2 separate regions of the Homo sapiens genome follow, and region 1 is linked to region 2. Evidence: promoter capture Hi-C in 16 types of primary human blood cells and fetal thymus (Javierre and others, 2016). All regions are on one chromosome and are shown on one strand. The core of a region is centred on a gene start or on the middle of the fragment in contact, and the rest is flanking DNA. Distances in the headings are between cores, read along the strand shown. Region 1 holds the start of PPP6R3 (protein phosphatase 6 regulatory subunit 3). Region 2 holds the start of UNC93B1 (unc-93B1 regulator of TLR signaling).

Evidence for each region. The method cuts DNA at HindIII sites, captures the fragments that hold promoters and counts their contacts. A CHiCAGO score of 5 or more calls a contact.
Region 1: a contact is called between a fragment that was not itself captured here and the fragment with the promoter of UNC93B1 in region 2, in 1 of 17 cell types (total B cells). The highest score is 5.5, in total B cells.

The regions. Positions count from the first base shown.
Region 1 is chr11:68,460,079-68,465,286 of GRCh38, reverse strand. PPP6R3 (protein phosphatase 6 regulatory subunit 3) reads right to left here and starts at 4,535. Exons shown (of 24, transcript NM_001164161.2): 1 at 4,460-4,535. RefSeq lists silencers at 4,075-4,184, 4,235-4,284, 4,295-4,664, 4,975-5,124 and an enhancer at 4,805-4,864. The HindIII fragment of the contact is 633 bases long and covers 2,202-2,834 here.
Region 2 is chr11:68,002,726-68,008,463 of GRCh38, reverse strand. It overlaps UNC93B1 (unc-93B1 regulator of TLR signaling), which reads left to right and starts at 4,367. Exons shown (of 11, transcript NM_030930.4): 1 at 4,367-4,516; 2 at 4,666-4,807; 3 at 5,289-5,442. The coding sequence starts at 4,421. RefSeq lists enhancers at 3,324-3,866, 3,867-4,410, 5,315-5,364, 5,465-5,514, 5,615-5,738 and silencers at 4,245-4,544, 4,605-5,014. The HindIII fragment of the contact is 17,319 bases long and covers 1-5,738 here.

The DNA of each region.
Region 1 (5,208 bases), core at 1,269-3,768, 460 kb before region 2:
AGCATACTGTATGCCTATCTGTGCCCTCAATGGGCAGAACTGGTAAACTGATCCAGGGCTAATTCTCTGGGAATAGGTCTTTATTAAAACAAAAACAAAAACAAAAAACAGGCATGGTGGCTCACGCCTGTAATCCCAGCACTTTGGGAGGCCGAGGCGGGCGGATCACTTGAGGTCAGGAGATCGGGACCAGCCTGGCCCACATGGTGAAACCCCATCTCTACTAAAAATACAAAAATGAGCCAGGTGTGGTGGCACGCACCTGTAATCCTAGCTACTCAGGAGGCTAAGGCAGGAGAATCACTTGAACCCAGGAGGCGGAGGTTGCAGTGAGCCAAGATCATGCCACTGCACTCCAGCCTGGGTGACATAGTGAGACTGTCTCCGAAAAAAAAAAAAAAAAGTTGAAGCTGGCATCTAAAACCAGACCTGACCACTGACTGACAAAAGGAGGGCAAAAGATACTAACTCAAAAATTACAGTAGTGTAAGATTATTCAGCACAGAAGCAAACTCTAAATATCTAAGAATTTTGCTTAGTTTCAGCACAGTATGGTAATGTATTTTCATGAGGTTAAGAAAAAAAAGTCCTAAGATATTTTATAAAATCAATTAACAAATGCTTCTAAAGTTCAGTCTTCAGGCATCTGAAAAATGGTTAAGTATACCATCTAAATAATCCCCACTACTAAATAATCTCCAAGGCAGGATCTAGGTACTGCAAAGACCAAGTTCACAGATCACCGAAAGGAACCCTTAACTCACAAACAGTCCCTAAACCTGTGGTGTAAAACAGTGGTTCCAAAATTCAGCTGCATTTCAGTATTGTCTGAGAAGCTTCTAAAAAATAGATTCTCGTGGCCGGGCATGGTAGCTCACACCTGTAATCCCAGCACTTTGGGAGGCCGAGGCGGGTAGATCACGAGGTCAGGAGTTCAAGACCACCCTGGCCAAGATGTGAAACTCCATCTCTACTAAAAATACAAAAAACAGCCGGGCATGGTGGCGGGTGCCTGTAATCCCCGCCACTAGGGAGGCTGAGGCAGAGAACTGCTTGAACCCAGGAGGCAGAGGTTGCAGTGAGCCGAGATGGCACCACCACACTCCAGCCTGGGCGACAGAGCTAGACTCATCTCAAAAAAAATTAATAAGATTCTCAATCCCACCATTTCCAGAGGTGGAGTCCAACATCCATGGTCTTAAAAAATTTCTAATTATTCTAATGCAGGCTTATTCTAATGTAGGCCAGTCTCACATCTATCTAAGTGCAGGATTTCTCAACCTCAGCAGTGTTGCTATTTGGGACTGGATACTTTTGCTGGCGGGCAGGGAGGAGGCTATGCTGGACACTGTAGGATGTTTAGCAGTATCCTTGGCCTCTACCCTCCAGAAGCACACTGCCCACTCCCAGAGGTGTAACAAGCAAAAATATGTCCAGACACTGCCAAATGTTTCCTGGGGGGTGAGGGGGGAACCACCCCCAACTGAGAACTCTTGAACTAGAGTAAATCAAAAGACAATCATTTGAAGTTAAGAAAGGAAAGAAATATGAAAGCTGTTTAAAGCCAAGAGGCCAGATCTTTTTTTCAGTACATTAGAAAAAGTAGCAGCCAATACTGGGGTGCAGACCATAACTTCTAAGGACCAAGTCAATGCTGAGTTTTAGTTGAGCAGATAGAAGAGCTTTATTTTCACTATCATTTACTCTTATTTAGTAAAATACTGTAAAATTTTAGACCAAAACACACACACACACAAACACACACAGAGGCTGCCTCTCAAATACTGAAAATATAGAACTAGACAATGGAAGTTGTCATAGAAATAAAATACCGATCGTGACACTTGTTTTAAAGAGATGTTTATTTGTAACAAGCACATAATCTACCAAATAGGTGCAAAGCCCTATCTTTTTTTTTTTTTTTTTTTTTTCTGAGACTGAGTCTCGCTCTGTCTCCTAGGCTGGACTTGGCTCACTGCAACCTCCGCCTCCCAGGTTTAAGCGATTCTCCTGCCTCAGCCTCCCAAATAACTGGGATTACAGTCACACGCCACCATGACCGACTAATTTTTGTATTTTTAATAGAGACAAGGTTTCACATGTTGGCCTGGTCTCGAACTCCTGACCTTAAGTGATCCGCCAGCCTCGGCCTCCCAAAGTGCTGGGATTACAGGCGTGAGCCACTGCGCCCGGCCAAAGCTTTATCTTAAAAAGCTAGGCAACCTCATCCTGTCAATGTTACTTCTATTCATTTTCTGCTCAGCTATGGTCTGATTCTCAAATTCTCAATTAGTTCATTGAAACTAACAACTTTTTGCTTGTTGACTTTGCTTTGCTATACTTTACACAAAGGCTAGAGTTCTAAACCGAAAACAATCTTCTTCCTGTCCTTAAGTTCCACCAGCAAGATACTCATCTCTACTTAAGACTGAGTCCATCAAAACACACATCTCCAATACAGCAAACCAAGTCCCAAGTAAACACAACAATACCAGGGGAAGGTGCACGCAAGGTTTCGAGCACCATGGAGGAGAGTATCGGGCAAGCGGTAAAGGATTGTGAGTTTATTTCTGACTGAGTGCAGGCATTTTGTTCAATGTTCTAGACTCCCTGACCAGACATGCTGAAGTGGAGAATACCTTCCAAAGTATCCCTCCAGGACAAAAGCTATTTCCCAAACTATCTTTGCTGAAGAATACTGCAATCCACGGCACCCTTACAGTTTTCAGTAACAAGGAGGACTTACACTAAGAAACCCTAGTTACTGATTCGGGTGGCAGTCACCCAGAAACTAGTATCCAAAAGCACATGAGGAACAAAGCCCGACTTAAGCTTGTGATGGGCTTTTCTGTATTTAACCATCTCTTTAAACATTATGAGGCGCTACTACTCATTAATTACTCCGGTAAATGTTCCTAATTTAAGGAATGGTCAAAAACCCTGTCCTGAAAAAATTAAAATAACTTATAGTTTTACTTTTTCAGCCCAACTGAGTCTTACACAGAGCTTTCTAAAGGCAGTCACCAAGAGTCGGGACTCAAATGCTCATCTGACTTCCCAATAGTACCTAAACATTTAAAAATCAAATTTAAATTAAACAATAATAGCCATTAACTAGCCTAACCACTAATCAGCCACTGAGGTGACTGTATGTGCCAGGCACAGCTCTAGCTGTTTTACATGTATTAGGGCAATTATCCTGACAAACTTATGGCTGGGACACTTATTATTATTCCCATACTACAGAGAAAAAAAAAGAGAAGCTGGGTAACTTGCCCAAGGTCACAGAGCTAAAAAGTGGTCACTGACTCCACTCCACAGTGAGGAAAACCCAACCACCACCATAACTGGGTCTCATACACTTGCTACTTGAGGCACAGTTCGGTGGTTGGAAACCTGGAGTCCCTGTCCCCCTTGAAGCCTATCTGCAACATGACCTTGAGGACAAAATCAAAGTAAACGTCCCACGAATAAAGGACACCACCCCGTCAACAAGTGCTGCGAGGATGAAAGGGAACGCCTGTCAAGCACCCCCTCCCATAAAAGCAAAACAGACCCAAAGCCCCACAGAGAAAACGTGAAGTACCAGGAAAATGACATTAAGTCACGCGGTTGAAACGTCAGGGCACGGAGGTACATCCAAAGACCCATCCCGTTCACCTATAATTAAAAAGTCTAAATTGTGATCACAGCCAGCAGGACCTCAACAGGAAACACCTCCAAGTAAACAGTGAATGGGCTTCTTTAAGAGGGAGGGACTTCAAGCCACAAGAAGGACCACCCACCCCCCCCACCCCCGGCTCAAATACACCAGGGAGGCATTCGAGACAGTTTACATACAAGCCACCTCACAGGAGTTAAAAAGCCACTGGGAAGGGTACTGGGAGCCTCGGAACTGGCTGGTGTGGATCCCGATGACTCTGCGGCGAATTAACAGAAACCCACAAAACTTGTTTCCCGAAGAGCAGAGTCCAACAATGGTCTTCGCGACTCTTGACGGCGAGTTGCTGCCTCAACTTGACGCGCTCCCCGAGGCCCCCGGGAGGCCCAGCGGGAGCGGAGACCGGGCGCGGGCCGGGCGGGGGGCGAGACTGCGGGCCGCGGCCGGCGGGCGGGAAGGCTGGAGCCAGAGCCGGGTCAGGGGCGCGCCTCGCCCGCCCGCCGCGCCAGGCCGCGAACGTCAACGAGGCACAAAGTCGCCGCCCCGACCGCGTCCCGCTCCCGGCGCCCGTCCTGGCGGGGCCCCCGGCTAACAGGAGCGGACGGGGAGCGGCCGGGAAGGACTCGGCGCCGCGCCTCCCGGGCCCGCGGAGCGACGAATTCCGGGGGGGGAGGGGAGAGGGGCCGGGACGTTCCCTCCCTGAGCCGCTGAGGCCAGGTGGAGGGGCCCCGCGCCTGCCCGCGCGCCTCGCACACCCCGCGCCGCGGCCTGCTCCGGCGCCTCCCCTACCCCCATTACCTGGAGGTGCCCACGACCCGCCGCTAGTTGCGCTCAGGCGGGAAACGCGCTCACCGACACCATCAGCGAAGCGCCCAAAATGGCGGACGTATCAAGCAGGCCTTGAGTTCCCCCCCGCCCGCCCTCTGGCCGCCTCTCAGCCAATCGCGGCCCTGCCCCCGCCCCCAGCTCCAGGCTCATTGGCCCCTCTCTCCCGCCCCCTACTACCTATTGGATCGCCTAGCGGCTCCTTTGACTACATTCCGATTGGCCCGCAAGCCTCGTCAGTCAAGCGCGAGGGGCGCATTCTTTTCCCATGGACTTGACGGATCCGGAACCTCTAGGACCCCGGAGCCTGAGAAACAAATCAGAAACGGGGAGAAACCTGGCTGGGACCCCCTACGCCGTAGCAACAGCAGGTCCTCCGCTTGACGGACGCTTCGGACCACCAATCCGAGTGGCCAATGCTTTTTAAAACTAAATTGAGCCAAGCCCATCATGGCCGTGGAGCCGGAGCCGTGAGGGATCCAATAGGGTGGCGAGCTGGCCGGGCGGGGCGGGGGCGGCGGGGGACACCGGTGGTGACGTGAGCCACAATATGCGCCGGCTGCAAAGGTTAGGCCGGGCTAGGGAATCAGCTTAAGTGGAGGAGCGTTCGTTTAGTATGTGAGAGGTAACGGGATCGATGCCTGCATTCTCCACAGGGGAATTTTTATCAGAATGATTTCCCATTGCGATCTCTTTACCTGAAAGAGGTGGCTGTCCTCGTA
Region 2 (5,738 bases), core at 3,118-5,617:
TCTCAGCTGGGAGTGAGGCCCAGAGAGGGCAGCCACTGGTCTAAGGCCACACAGCAAATCAGGGACCCATCTTGGCGGGTACTGGCAGGTGGGAGGGGTGTTTCAGGATCCCGAGGGTCCCCTCCCTGGCCAGGGAGCTGTTGAAGAATTTCCCCCAACTCACAGGGGCCGAACTTGTCATGAATGCAGGAGCAACCTGGGAGGAGGCCCCCGAAGAGGCCTGTCCTCCCGGGACAGAACTCCTAGCCTTCCCTGGGAGTGAGGCTCCCCCCAAGGGAGGCCACACACCTCCCAGGAGGGCTGGGCCCTCCCCACTCTGGGTTGGGTGCCCCTCACTACTCCTCAAAGCTCCAGAGGCTCAGTAGGGCCTGGGAGTCCCATCTTTGTTGAGGAGCCCAGGGTAAATGGGGAGCCCTCTGGGTAGGGCACCAGGAGGACTCACTTTTGGAGCCAGCTCTGGGGTGAGGTCTGCCAAGGCCCAGGCCAGCCAGGGGGAGTGGGTGGAGGGGTTGCTCAGGGCTCCGGGCCAGACAGCTGCGGCCCCGCCTGCCCTGCCTCCTCCTTGCTGGGCTGACGCTTCGCCTCTTTGGGCCTCAGTGTTCCCATGTGAGAATGGGGCTGACTACAGTCCCGGGGGCATCTGTGGGTGAATGAGAGGGTTCGGCAGGCATGGATCTCAGCACCTGGCATGGAGGGCGTTAAGTGTGAGGTCTGGGCTCAAATCCTGGTCCTGTCACTTACCTGTGTGACCTAGGTTAGTGTCTTAACCCCCCGTGCCTCTGCCTTCCCATCTGTAAAATGGGACATAAGTGATTGTGAGGCTGAAACAAGTTATTCCATGCACGTGGGCCCGGAACTGTGACCATTCCAAGTGCCCGGCCCCCTCTGGAAGGGTCTGAGAGCTACCTTCCAGACTCTAGGACAGGAGTGTGGGCAGGGCATGAGCATGGCATCAGGTGGAATCATTCATCCATTCATAATTCATTCATTCATTCCCTCACTTCTCAGAAACACGCCCCTGAGCCTGGCTCACAGGGCCTCAGACCTGCCCAAGAGCATCTCACTGCCTCATCTGCCCACGAGTGACCTTGAAAAGAAACGTCCCCTCACTGGGCCTCAGTTTCCCCAGCTGTAAAATGGGGGCTGACTCTGCCTGCCTCACATGGCTACTGCGAGGGTGAAACGAGAGCCGACCTGAAGGCACCGACAGGGCACCTGGTTCTCAGTAGGCGCTCAGAGCATGTGAATGTCCTCCTGCCCCTCTCCTTGCCCTCCTGAGGAAGTGGCTGCCCCAGGCCTTGGCCCTGAGGCCCTGGCCCTGCCTCCCACCCCCTCCCTGGCAGTCTTGAAGGCTGGACCCACCCTGGCTCCTTGAAGAGGCAAAGTTAGAGGCTGTAGGGGCCCAGGGCCCAGGACACAGTCAGAACTCACGGGCAACGGTGAATGCGGGTCACTTGTTCATTTACGCACTCAACAAACCTTTACTGAGCACCTACTGTGTGCAGACACTTCACACAATTTTCACAATTCCCAGACATTATTGACCATGCTTTCCAGCTGGGCCACACAGTGACAAGGACTCATGGGGATCCACAACCAGCCTGGCCTGGCTCCCCGGCCCACGGTGCTTCCAAGGTGCCTGGAGCCCTCGCACAGGAATGGGCTGGAGTCTTCAGCTCTGGGTGAGCCCTTTGCCACCAACTCTCAGGAGCCTCAAGTCTCAGTGGAAAGCAGCAGCCACCTGGGCATTTGCTGTGCCAGGCACTGGGCAGAGCCTTTGGCACACCCCAACCTGGGGACCTCCCACCATCCTGTGAGCCAGACTCAGTGATCATCATCCCCATTGGCTTTAATGTTTAAAATATTGTGGAATCACATCCATGCCAGGGAAGTGGTGTGAAGGGAATCACGTGGGCTGCCCAGCACGCTCCTGTGTCAGTGCAATGCGGGGCAACAATATTCCAAGAGGTTGTTTCAGGGAGTTCCAGTTGAGAGCAATATTTATTCTCTTCTGCTTGCTTTTCTGCAAGGAACATCGATTATTTTCATAATGAGAACTGAAAGTAAAGGCTTATTATAGAGAAAAGCATTGGCAAACAGTGAGCACGGGGGGATCTGGCCACCCCTTCCTGGGGATGTGACTGTGCACTGTTGCAACCTGGATGGGTTGGTGGAGGTGCTGGCCCTGCTCAGATCTCTGTCCCGCAGGTCACCCTGGTGTGTTTATCTGGGCCACCCTATCAGCCTCTTAGATAGTCTCCAGGCTCCCCAAGAGCAGCTCCATAAACCACCTAAAAAAAAAAATCCTTTCTGGAGAGAGGAGGTGTATCAGTCAGGGTTTAGTGCCTCCAGGGCTGTTTTTTGTTTTTTTTGTTTTTTGTTTGTTTGTTTGTTTGAGAGGTCTCACTCTGTCACCCACGCTGGAATGCAGTGGCACAATCTCAGCTCACTGCAGCCTCATCCTCCTGGGCTCAAGCAATTCTCCCACCTCAGCCTCCTGAGTAGCTGGGGCTACAGGTGTCCACCATCACACCAGGCTAGTTTTTGTATTTTTTGTAGAGATGGGTTGGGGGGGGGGGTTTGTCTCACTTTGTTGAGGCTGGTCTTGAACTCCTGAGCTCAAGTGATCCTCCTTGGCCAGCCAAAGTGCTGGGATTGCAGGCGTGAGCCACAGCGCCCGACCCTCTCCAGGTGTTTTGAGTAGGAGACATTGAGTGCAGGGAATTGGTGGTACAGCACAGGTGATGGAAGAGCCCAGGATGGGCAACCATAGCAACCGCCACAACCCCCAGGCCCAGAGGAACAAGGGGAGGAAGAGATTGCACCAGGCCCCAGAAGTTTGGGGTCCCTCAGGGAAATTGAGAAGCTCGGGGGGCCCACTCCCAGCACTTTGGGGGCTAAGGCGGGTACATCACTTGAGGTCAGGAGTTCGAGACCAGCCTGGGCCAATATGGTGAAACCCCATCTCTACTAAAAATACAAAAATCAGCTGGGTGTAGGGGCACACGCCTGTAATTCCAGCTACTCACAAGGCTGAGTCAGGAGAATTGCACTTTCTCATCATACTGTGTAATGATGCTGGTGTCTGCCATCTGAGAACGGCCCCCGCCATAGCCATACTCTCCCACCTCCTCCCTGCCCCTGCGCCTCGGGCCCTGCCCTCTCTTCGGCTCCTTTCCTGTCTCCCACTTCCAGCCACCCACCTGCATGAATCCACCTGTCTGTTCCCCACATCTGCACTTGGGCATCGTCACCTGGAGAAAGTTCTACCTCCTGGAAGCCTGAAGCCACTGCAGATTCACGCCTCCCCCCACCTTCCCAGCAATCCTTGCGGGGTGGGAGGTGTTTGTCATCCAGTCACTCATGCACCCATCCAGTCACAAGTATTGATCACTCAGTAGGTGCCCAATGCCATCCTCTGCATTTGGGAGAGGATGTACCTAAAGAGCAGTGGGTGGAGGGGGGTGCACAGGGAGGGCATGGAAAACCAGAAGGGAAGTGAAGGGACTGCATTCTCTGCAGGGATGGTCTCTTGTTCTGAGAGCTGAGTGGGAAGGAAGCCACCTGGGAGGCGCAGCAGGAAGAGCATTCAAACCAGAAGGAACCCAGGGGAGAGAATCTGGATATTTTCAAAAGTGGCCCCGTGGCTCCAGCCAGGTCGGTGGTAGCCAGTGCTTTGGAGTGTCGGCCCCACCACAGGCTCCCGCTGCAGCCCGGGATCCAGTGCCCAGCAGGATGGGGGCAGGTGGCTCTGGGCCCCACTACATGGTTGTGGCAGGGTCCCCCATGTAGTTCAGTGGGGATCACAATCTCCACCTCCCAGGACCCACTCAAGCTCCCATTTGCACAGCCCAAACTGGAGCAGGATGGGGACATGGGAGGTGGGCTCTGGCTGTAGCGTCCGGTGGTGGGAGGTGGGGTCCAGGTGGTGACGCTACTGTCCCTGCAGTGCTCTTTGATGAGCTGTAACAGCAGGCTTGGAGGTGGGGCTGGGGACGACCCAGGCAACCCTGAGGGGAGCTTAAGGGAGCCAGGCAACCCTGGCACTTTTCCAAGGCTTTGCATTAACTCAATAGTTCCGCCATGGCCCCGGGGGTAGTGCCATGTATTTCTGTTTTACCGTCGAGGAAACGGAGGAAACCGAGGCACAAAGAAATGGAGTTAATTCCTAAAGTCACAGGGCCAGGAGGTGGCTGAGTGGGGATTCGAACTCACACCCCAGAGGGCACACACAGGCAGGCCCCTGCACACACGCGCGCGCGCGCGCGCACACACACATACACACACACGTGTCCTGGAGGAGGCGGCCCGCAGGGCGGGACAGGGCGGGGCGGGGGCAGGTCCCGGCCGCCGGGAGGAAGTGGCCGGGCGGTCGCAGGGACTCCGGGGCGACCGCCGCGAGTCCGCAGTAGTTCGGGCCATGGAGGCGGAGCCGCCGCTCTACCCGATGGCGGGGGCTGCGGGGCCGCAGGGCGACGAGGACCTGCTCGGGGTCCCGGACGGGCCCGAGGCCCCGGTGAGCGGGGACCCGGAGTGCGAGGCGCGGGCGTCCCCTGTGGGCCAGGGTCCCCCCGGCGGGGGCGGGGCGGGCCGGGGGGCGGCGGGCACCGGGGGACACGGGTTCGGGGCGCGATCGCGGGTGCGAGCGGCGTGCGTGGCTCGCAGCTGGACGAGCTGGTGGGCGCGTACCCCAACTACAACGAGGAGGAGGAGGAGCGCCGCTACTACCGCCGCAAGCGCCTGGGCGTGCTCAAGAACGTGCTGGCTGCCAGCGCCGGGGGCATGCTCACCTACGGCGTCTACCTGGGTAGGTGCCGCTCGGGGACCCGGGGCCGCCCCGCCCGCTCCCAGCCCGGCCCGGGAAACAGAAACCGCGGGCCGCCGCCTCCCGCCCGCTCTCACTTCCCCTCCGCTGCCCTCGCAGCTGCAGCCACGGCCCCCCGCGGCGGGGGTGGGGTTGGGGGGTCAAGTAGCGCAGCGTCCCCGGGTCCCAGCCAGAGCCTCGGTGTGGGTGGGGGACGGGGGTCCGGGCTCCCGGACAGACCTGCCACCGTCAGAATTGGAGGCCGGCGGAGCAAGGCGGGTGGGGGTCTGGGCTTAGCTGGCCAAGTGGCCGCGGGCTGGCAGAAGGCGTGGCGCAGCCCGGGAACCCCGCTGTCCTGAGGGGCGCTGTCAGCGGGAATGCCTTCGGTGATTGGAGCTCCCTGCGAGGCCTGCATGCCGTCTTCTGCTCGGTGGCGCCCAAAGCTAGGCTGCTCCCTGCACGCCGCTCTCTGTCCTGTCCCCAGGCCTCCTGCAGATGCAGCTGATCCTGCACTACGACGAGACCTACCGCGAGGTGAAGTATGGCAACATGGGGCTGCCCGACATCGACAGCAAAATGCTGATGGGCATCAACGTGACTCCCATCGCCGCCCTGCTCTACACACCTGTGCTCATCAGGTGGGCGCGGCTGCTCCTGTGGGATGCTGCGGTACTCCCATTTCGGAGGGGTACAGAGGCCGGCGGGCCAGGAGGTGTCCATCTGCCGGGGTGTTTGTGGGGCGAGGGAACAAGGGAGAGGTTTTTTTCTACCCGGAAGCCTGAGAGTGAAGGGGGTGAAACTCGGATTTGGGGAAGGAAACAGGAACTTTGCCTCAGGGCACATTTGGTTTCCAGCAACAGATTCACACGGGCTGAGCTCCCTCCCAGCTTGCCTGGGCCTCACGTGGCACCCTCCTCGTGGCCTCCTTGGAGGC